Linked DNA regions of Homo sapiens: region 2 is linked to region 1. The links are contacts of gene promoters, found by promoter capture Hi-C in blood cells and fetal thymus (Javierre and others, 2016). All regions are on one chromosome and are shown on one strand. The core of a region is centred on a gene start or on the middle of the fragment in contact, and the rest is flanking DNA. Distances in the headings are between cores, read along the strand shown. Region 1 holds the start of CLDN1 (claudin 1). Region 2 has its middle 38 kb from the start of SNAR-I.

The links. Contacts are between HindIII fragments. The CHiCAGO score rates a contact against its expected background, and 5 or more counts as called.
Region 2: a contact is called between a fragment that was not itself captured here and the fragment with the promoter of CLDN1 in region 1, in 1 of 17 cell types (neutrophils). The highest score is 6.4, in neutrophils.

Annotation. Positions count from the first base shown.
Region 1 is chr3:190,320,314-190,325,326 of GRCh38, reverse strand. CLDN1 (claudin 1) reads left to right here and starts at 2,881. Exons shown (of 4, transcript NM_021101.5): 1 at 2,881-3,343. The coding sequence starts at 3,121. It also overlaps a transcript of CLDN16 not described here. RefSeq lists a silencer at 2,731-2,890. The HindIII fragment of the contact is 3,794 bases long and covers 1,855-5,013 here.
Region 2 is chr3:190,913,655-190,918,703 of GRCh38, reverse strand. No RefSeq gene overlaps it. Among named protein-coding and RNA genes, the nearest start is that of SNAR-I, 38 kb to the right of the region's middle. The HindIII fragment of the contact is 1,350 bases long and covers 937-2,286 here.

The DNA of each region.
Region 1 (5,013 bases), core at 1,632-4,131:
ATTGTCCTCGATTGATTTGGGTCACACAGAGAAATACTGCAGGAGAGCAGTCAAAGGCATGGACACGAGCGTCAAATTATATAGTTTGGAATTCCAGCGCTGCCATATTCAATATGAACTTGGATAAGCAGCCTGACCTCTCTGTGTCTGTTACCTGCACGTAGAGATAGCATATAAAACTCTGACCTCAACACTTGATGAAAATATACAGCAACAAGTGCCAGCTGTCATTACTTAGAGTCATAAAGCTTTAGACTTGGGTGACTTTCAGAAATTAACCCCATCCCTTTTATTGGTAGGGAAACTGAGGAAGAAAAGAAGTAATTTGTCTGAGGGTACATAGCAGATTTTACTACTCAACAGGCTAGGACACTTACCATACCATTGCCAGCCTTTCTAGAGCCTTCTTGGTCTCAGTGCTGCCTTTACTGTTTATGTTTCAGATATGAAAGGCCAGTATTTGGAAGCTGTTTTTCCTCTTAAGTTGATAGATTTATGCTGAGCCATTATCTCACCTGTCCTCTGCACTTAAGCTAGGAGCAGAAAACTAGACAGGATTAAGGATGCCTAGAGATGGGCCTGAATCACAGTGAAGCAAACAGCATTCACCTCAGCCTCACAAACATGGTTGTGGGTAGTGAAGTAATCAGCCTCGCACAGACCTGAAATACAAAACAAAAACACGGGACCCTGCTGACCACAGAACTCATCCCTCCGATTCCCCGCTAATTGTAGGTTGATAGAAACCAGTTGTAATGCAGAGTAAAAGGGCCTGTGCACAAATATATTTACTGAACGCAGAAAATGTCATTTATTTGTTTATTTATTTATTTATTTATTTGTTGAGATGGGGTCTTGGTCTGTTGCCCAGGCTGGAGTGCAGTGGCACGATCTGGGCTCACTGCCACCTCCGCCTCCCGGGTTCAAGCAATTCTCCTACCTCAGCCTCCCAAGTAGCTGGAATTACAGGCGCCCACCACCATGCCCGGCTAATTTTCATATTGTTAGTAGAGACGGGGTTTCACCATGTTGGCCAGGCTGATCTCGAACTCCTGATCTCAAGTGATCCGCCTGCCTCAGCCTCCCAAAGTGTTGGGATTACAGGCGTGAGCCACTGCGCCTGGCCTGAGCCACCGTGCCCGGGTGTTTAATAATACTTTTAATTCTTAAATGTTTGGAACAAAAAAAAGAAGAAAATGAGATTATATGATTCACATGGTACTGCTCTAGTCCTGCAGCAAATTCCAGTGCCTTCTCTGATCAGGGAATTTTTACAAAATCAAATGTGATTGATACATCTTCATCCACACTGACAGGCACCCACAGAACATCCACTGAGACCTAGACAGTAGTACTGACTGCAGGCCCTAACCCTGGGATACAACACGAACATGGTCTTGTCCTAAACAGCTGATAGGAGAAAGACAGTATTCACTGTGTTAATCTCAGTCCAAATTAATTGTCTTCATCTAGCTCCTGTCTTACATTCTTCATTGCTTGTCCCTAAATCCTAGCACGGCCAAGTCCTTTAGTTTTAAGCCTACATGAAAGGCATCCAGGGAGAGCCAGGTGGAAATGAAGGTGGTGGGGCTTGGCCTTTCTTCCCATTCCCACCTTGAGAATTTGCACCTTTCCTTCTCTGTCACCAACTAGCAGTTGCCATGGTATATAAGGGTATATCTTATTTTATCCTTAATATGTTTATTTCTGCTTCCAAGATGCTTCTGTTTTTACTAAAACCATAGAAGCTTCCCCTCCCACCACACTCGCACCACACACAAAAAGCAGTTGGAAAAACATTTCAATGATTCCTAACCACAACAGCACTTCTGACTAACTACAAAGAAGGAAGCTTTGGAGAAACATAGAGGGAAACTACAGTCCCAGCGAGACCGAAACCGGAGGGGTGAGATAGCCAGTCACAGTAAAAGCTGGAACCAGAGCCCAGACTTCCTCAACTCCAGCCCAGTCCTTTTGCCACTGGGGAAACGCTGTTTACATGTCCTCACCTGCGACGAACAACATTTGATAACTCACAAAATTAACACCTTTCAGGGAGAGCGGGGCACTGGCCAGGTCCCTCTGATAATGAATTGCTGCTCTAAGACATAACTGCTGTGGGGAGGAGGTTGGTGTTTGGCGGGGAAGGGCTGCTAGCCTGCAGTTTCATAAGGACAATAATACATCAAAAAGGACAATCATAGATCAAAGGGGATATTTTGGGTCAACTTGATATGTAGTGGAAAGCAGATTGGGAGGGGAGCCAAGTACTGGATATGCTCCGTGCGTGAGTGTGTCTGTGTGTGTGTGTGTGTGTGTGTGTAAATCATGTTGCTCTCTGGGTCTGTTTCCCAATCTGTAGAGTGTAAAAGTCTCTGAGGCTCCTTGCAGAGACAAGTGATGGAACGACCTTGACAGAAGAGAGCAGAGAGAGGAAAGAAGGGGGAGGAAGCCAAGCAAAGGAGAGAGAAATGGTGTGATGGGGGAGGAGACGCGGAGTTGGGTAGAAATGCCTTTTAATAAGATATTGGGAAAAAAGTATTAAACCTAAAACTGCAGCTCTTGAAGGATCATTTTTTCATCTTTGTGTTAGGATTTACAAGTACAGTGCATAGTAATTTTTGGATAATTGGAGTGAATGAATGAAAAGCGTGAAACGCCTTACAGGAGCGAGAAGATCCACGAGAGAAAGCGAGCAGGGACGCAGCTCTGGTGCCTGGTCCTGCCGGGTGGTCCCCACGCCGCCAGCCGCGCGTTCCCCAACCGGGCGCTCCCGGCGCCCTCTCGGTGAGCCGCCCTGAAACCGCCAGGGGGCGCTCCCCGGCTGCCGGGGCTGAGGCGGGCGGAGCTGCTTTAAATCGCGGCGCCCAGCGGTTCTGCGTCTCAGTTCCCGAGCCTGGGAGCAACCGCAGCTTCTAGTATCCAGACTCCAGCGCCGCCCCGGGCGCGGACCCCAACCCCGACCCAGAGCTTCTCCAGCGGCGGCGCAGCGAGCAGGGCTCCCCGCCTTAACTTCCTCCGCGGGGCCCAGCCACCTTCGGGAGTCCGGGTTGCCCACCTGCAAACTCTCCGCCTTCTGCACCTGCCACCCCTGAGCCAGCGCGGGCGCCCGAGCGAGTCATGGCCAACGCGGGGCTGCAGCTGTTGGGCTTCATTCTCGCCTTCCTGGGATGGATCGGCGCCATCGTCAGCACTGCCCTGCCCCAGTGGAGGATTTACTCCTATGCCGGCGACAACATCGTGACCGCCCAGGCCATGTACGAGGGGCTGTGGATGTCCTGCGTGTCGCAGAGCACCGGGCAGATCCAGTGCAAAGTCTTTGACTCCTTGCTGAATCTGAGCAGTGAGTGCACCCCCACCTCACAGCGGCCGTCCAGAGGCCCCAGTCCCCCTGCAGCTCCCTTATGGGCTCATTCTGTTGTGTGATTCCATGGTTATCAGTCTTCAGTTGATCAAGTCTTCTGATCATGTGCTCTGTCATAAGGAAATGAAGAGAATCCTGGTTTGAGGAAAGCGACGCCCAGGCATAAGCTCTAGTTTTGCCTCTAACTCCCTGGGTGACACTTCTGCCACTCTAGGTGTGGCTTCATCCTAAATTCCTATGCTGGTGGTTCGAGTTGAGGGAGTGAAGGCCAAACTTGAACTTGAGCTCTTAGACCTCTCCTAGGCATTCCGAGATTTGGGGTAAATTGAGGATTGGTAGAGTTCAGACAAGAAAATGGGATGACTGAAAAAGTTTGAAGCCTGGTAACTTCTCAAGTGTGCACGCTTAAATAAATAATCCTCAAGTATTAGATATAACTTTTTAACCTTTAATATGATTTTTTCATAGTAAAAGTTACATTCCTACTGGAAATGTCCTATCTAAGTGTCTTCTGCTTATGCTTGAGGTTGATTCTTTTAATTTATAAGATCCAGTTAGTGCAGGGAGGCCCCTTGCAAGACTCTTTGGAGAAGCTGCTTGAGATTCCCCCGAAGTTTTAATTTTCAGACCCAAGGTCTTCTGTAGAGGCTGACGGTGTAGTGCTATCTTGGAAAGAGAAGGTTGGTGGCAGGTGGGGAAAGGCTGACAAGAAAGGTTCTAAATAACCTGCGCAACATAATACAAAGAAAAAAGTAAAGGCACTGAAGGGAAATGCAGCAAAATAGTCATAGCTGATGAAATCAGAGGTCAGCTGGGAGTGGAAGGCAGTGAGAGAGAAAGAAGAGGTGGGTCTTCCTTAGGTTTCCATCTTCCACAAAGAAATTTCTGTGTAATGGATGTTCAGTGACCCCCTGTAAAACTGGAAAGGATTGTATAGAGAGACATATTTCTAAGGATGGTGGGAAGAAGGATAATAGGATAATTGTTTTACTTTGTTTTTTAAATTAAAGGTTTCGAGTTCCTTGTCCGAAAAGTCATTAAATTCCCATTTACTTAGATAATAATGATTCACGGCTGGAGTATCTTCCTTGAGAAATCACATTAATTGTCTTATATCATGTGTCTGTTATGCCCTTTAACTCACTTGAAGAAAAGATCCCTTAGTCTTTGCCTAGATGAACGTGACTGCCCACTGGCCCCCATTGCATGCTAAGGGTGAAAAGTGTTGGCATTGTTCAAGTTTACTTAACTTGTTTTGTCTACCTCCTATCAAGGGACAACTTTTAATAGTGTATATCAAAAGCCATATAGTTTAGAGTTATTAAACCTGTTCCAAATCTGTTTGAACACCTTGAATACCTGTGGCATTTGCTCAGTCAATGTGCATGGTTGTTTTGAGTGTTATTATTTCAGCTTTTGAAGGTTCTCATATCAGGACTTCTTTACACCAAAACCAATCCATAAGTTTAGTAATTATGTGTTGCTCATTGCCCTCAGGGGTTATATTTGTACTTATAAAATGAAAAATTTGGTAATAATTATTGAATTTCTCCATGGAAAGATAAATATATTTAAGGAAACGGTGTCAGGCATTTTAGGTACCACGTTAAGGAATTGGCAGGTGGAGGTTTCTAAGGACAATTCCAGAG
Region 2 (5,049 bases), core at 362-2,861, 590 kb before region 1:
AAAGAGAAGTCAATACCAAGAAGAACTCTCAAAATCAAACAATTACATGGAAATTAAACAACATATTCCTGAATGACTTTGGGGTAAAGAATGAAATTAATGCAGAAATTAAAAAAATATTCTTGGAAACTAATGAAAACAAGGATACAATACAATAGAATCTCTGGGACACAGCTAAGCAGTGTTAAGAGGAAAGTTCATAGCACTAATTGCCTATATGAAGAAGTTAGACCTCAAAATAACATTTATATTGCATCCAGATAAACTACAAAAACAAGAGGAAACCAACCCCAAACATAGCAGAAGAAAATAAATAACCAGAAATCAAAGCTGAACTGAACAAAATTGAACACAAAAATGTATAAAAAGGATAGATGAACCCAAAGTTGGTTCTTTGAAAGAATAAATAACATTGATAGACTGCTAGCTAGATTAATAAATTAAAAAGTGAGAATATCCAAATAAACAGAATTAAAAATGACAAAGGTGACATTGTCACCAACCCCACAGAAATACAAAAAACCCTCAGAGGCTATAATGATCACCACTTTGGAGACAAACTAGAAAACCTAGAAGAGATGGATAAATTCCTGGAAGCATATAACCTCTCATGAGTGAACCAGGAAGAAATGAAAATCATTAACAGACTATAAGGAGTTTCAAAGGTGAATCAATAATAAAAAACCTACCAACAAGAAAAAGCCCTGGACAAGACAGATTCACAGCCAAATTTTACCAGACTTATAAAGAAGAGCTGGTACCAATGCTACTGAAGTTATTCCAAAAAAAAAAAAAAAAAATGGGGAGGAAGGACTCCTACCAAAAACATCAGACCAATATCCCTGATGAACCCAGATTCAAAAATTTTCAACAAAGTATCAGGAAACTGATACCAGTAACACATCGCAAAGCTGATCCAATGCAATCAAGTAAGCTTTATTCCTGGGATGCAAGACTGGTTCAACACATGAAAATCAATAAATATAATTTACCACATAAGCAGAATTGAAAACAGAAACCACATAATCATTTCAATAGATGATGAAGAGGTTTTTGATAAAATTCTACATCCTTTCATGTTAAAATCTCTCAATAAACTACATATCAAAGGGAAGTACCTCAAAAAAATAAGAGACTTCTATGACAAACCCACAGTCAACATCACGCCAAATGGGAAAAAGTAGAAAGCATTCCCCTTGAGAACCAGAACAAAACAGGCATGTCCACTCTTAGCACTGCTATTCAACATAGAACTAAAAGTCCTATCCAGAGCAACCAGGCAAGAGAAAGATATAAAACATGTACAAATAGGAAGAGAGAAACTCAAACTTATACAAACAATGTGATTTTATACCTAGAAAGTCACATAGTTTCTGCCCAAGGACTCCTAGATCTCATCAACAACTTCAGCAATGTTTCAGAATACAAAATCAATGTGCGTAATTTAGTACATTTTTATATACCAATAATGTTCAGTCTAAGAGCCAAATCCAAAATGGAATCCAATTCACAATAGCTATAAAATGATAAAATACCTAAGAGTACAGCTAACCAGGGAAGGCAACAATATCTACAATAAGAATTACAAAACACTGCTGAAAGAGGTCAGAAAAGACACAAACAAGTGAAGACACATTCCGTGCTCATGGATAGGAAGACTCAGTACTGTTAAAATGACCATACTGCCCAAAGAAATTTACAGATTCAATACTATTTCTACCAAACTACCAATGATATTTTTCACAGAATTAGAGAAAGCAATTTTAAAATTCATATTGAACAAAAAAAGCCCAAATAGCCAAAGCAATCCTAAGCAAAAAGAACAAAACCAGAAACATCACACCACATGACTTCAAACTATGTACTACAAGGCCTCACTAACCAAAACAACATAGTACTGGTAGAAAAACAGACACATAGACAAATGAAACTGATTAGAGAACCCAGAAATAAACCCACACAAGGGAAAATATCTGAGCTTTGACAAAGTTGACAAAAACAAGCAGTGGGGTAAAGAATTCCTATTCAATAAATGATGCTGGGAGAGCTGGCTAGCCATATGCAGAAGACTGAAACTGGACCCGTCCATTTCACCATATATAAAAATCAACTTAAGATAGATTAAAGATTTAAATATGAAACCCAAACCTATAAAACCCCTGGAAGAGAAAACTATGAAATATTATTCTGAACGTAGCCTTTGGCAAAGATTTCATGACAAAGACTCCAAAAGCAATTGCAGCAAAAACGGTAATTGACAAGTAGGACTTATTAAACTACAAAGCTTCTGCACAGCATTGGAAACTAGGAGGAGAGTAAACAGACAACATACAGAATGAGGGGAAATATTTGCAAACTATGCTTCTGACAAAGGTCTAATATCCAGTATCTATAAGAAACTTAAACAAAATAACAAGCAAAACCAACACCCCATTAAAAAATGAGCAAAGGACATGAATGGGCACTTCTCAAAACAAGATATACATGCAGCAAACAAACAAATGAAAAAATATTTAACATTACTAATCATCAGAGGGGTGGAAATCAAAACCACAATAATACCATCTCATACTAGTCAGAATGGCTATTCTTTAAAAGTCCAGAAATAACAGATGCTGGTGAAGATGTGGAGAAAAGAGAAAGCTTATACACTGCTGATGGAAATGTAAATTAGTTCAGCCACTGTGGAAAACAGTTTGGAAATTTCTGAAAGAGTTTAAATGAGTACCACCTTTTTACCCAGCAATCTCATTGCTAGGTATATACCCAAATAAATATAAATTGTTCTACATGAAGACACATGCACACATATACACATAGGTTCATTATTGCAGTATTTACAAAGACAAAGACATTGAATCAACCTAGATGCCTTTAATGAACTAGATAGAGAAAATATGGTACATACACATCATGGAACACTACACAGCTATAAAAAGAATTAAATTATGTTCTTTCAGCAACAGAGATGGAGCTGGAGGCCATTATCCTAAGCAAATGAATGCAAAAACAGAAAACCAACTACACATTCTCACTTATAAGTTGGAGCTAAACATTGAGTACATGTGGATACAAAGAGGAGAACAATAGACACCAGGGACTACTTAAGGGTAGAGAGTAGGAGCAGTTGAGAACTGAAAAACCACCTATGAGGTGCAATGTTCCTTACCTGAGTAACAAAATAATCTGTACAAAAAGCTTCCATGACATGCAATTTACCCATGTAACAAGCCTGCACATATACCCCCTGAAACTAAAATAAAAGTTAGAAAGAAAGAAAAACATGGTTTGGAAAATGGAAAAAAATCTACAGACAGTAAGAAAATGTTTGCAGTTCATAAATGATATAAGAATTCTCTAAATTCAATATTCAGGAAACAAGCACACAATTAAAGGTGGGCAATAAACTTCAATTGACACTTTAGCATAGGATATACAGCTGGCAGATCAGCACAGAAAAATGTATTCATTATTAGTAAGAAAATAAACATTTAAACCACAATGAGATACCATTACACACCTACTAAAATAACTAAAATTGTATATCTGACTAAATGATAGCAAGGATATTAGTAAGTGGAACTGTAATATATTTTTTGTGGGAGTATAAAATGCTATAACCAATTGTAAAATAGTTTGATGGTTTTTTGGACATTCTTAAAACATACACTTACATGATTTTGCTGCTCCACTTGTACTATATTTCCATATAAAAACGTACGCACAAACCATCCCCTATCTAACAGCAGATGAATTTATAAACACATTGCAGTGTATACATTTGAAACAGTACTTAGTAGACTATCATTTAGCAATAAAAATGGCACATATGACAACATGGAAGAAAAAAGCCAGACCAACAAACAATATATATTCTATTATTACATTAATATACAATTCTAGAAAAATGCAAATTAATCTATAGTAGCAAATGAGTAGTTGCCTGGGGAATGCATGGAGTTCCTTACCTAGGTAGAAGGAATAATTCTGGTGTTCTGTAGCACACTAGGGTGACTACAGTTAACAATAATTTATTGCATATTTCAAAGTAGCTAGAACAGAGTATCTGGAATGTCCCCAACACAAATAAATAAAGAACATTCAAATTGGAAAATAATATGTCAAGTTATTCTTTTTCCAAATGAAAAATCTAGACTCCACCAAAAATTGTTAGAACTGACAAATGACAAATGAGTTCATTAAAGTTTTAGGATACAAAATCAACGTACAAAAATCAGTAGCATTTCTATACACCAACAGTAAAATTCTGAAAAAGAAATTTAAAAATCCAATTTCATTTACGTTAGCTACAAAAAATAAATTAACTAGGAATTAATTTAACTAAAGAAGTTAAAATCTTTACAATGAACACTATAAAATGCCAATAAGGAAAATTGATGAAGACACACAAAAAATGAAAAGATAGCTTATGTTCATGGATTGGAAGAATTAACACTGTTAAAATGTGCATAATACCAAACGCGATCTATAGATTCAATGCATTCTTTGTATAAATACAAATAACATTTTTCCAGAAATGAAAAAACAATCCTAAAATTCATATGGAACCACGAAAGACCCTAAATAGTCAAAACAATCCTGAGCAAAAAGAATAAAGCTGGAAGTATCACATTACATATGCAAATCAATAAACTTGATACGTTACATTAATACAACCAAGGACAACACCACATGGTTATTTCAATAGATGTCAAAAAGAATTGGATAAAATTCGACATCAATTCATGATGAAAAAAATCAACAAACTGAGCATGGAAGAAACATGCCTCAAAATAACAAAGGCTGTATACATAAAACTCACAGCTAGCACCATATTGAATGGGGAAAAATTGAAAGCCTTTCTTCTAAGTTCTGGAAGAAGATAAAAATGCCCACTTTCAGCCCTTTTATTCAAAAGAGTACTGGAAGTCCTAGTCAGAGCAGCTAGATAAGATAAATATATGATAAATGAGTGAGATGATATGTAGTTTAATTACCCTGACTTGATCATTACACACTCTGTATCAAAATATCACATGGACCTATTAA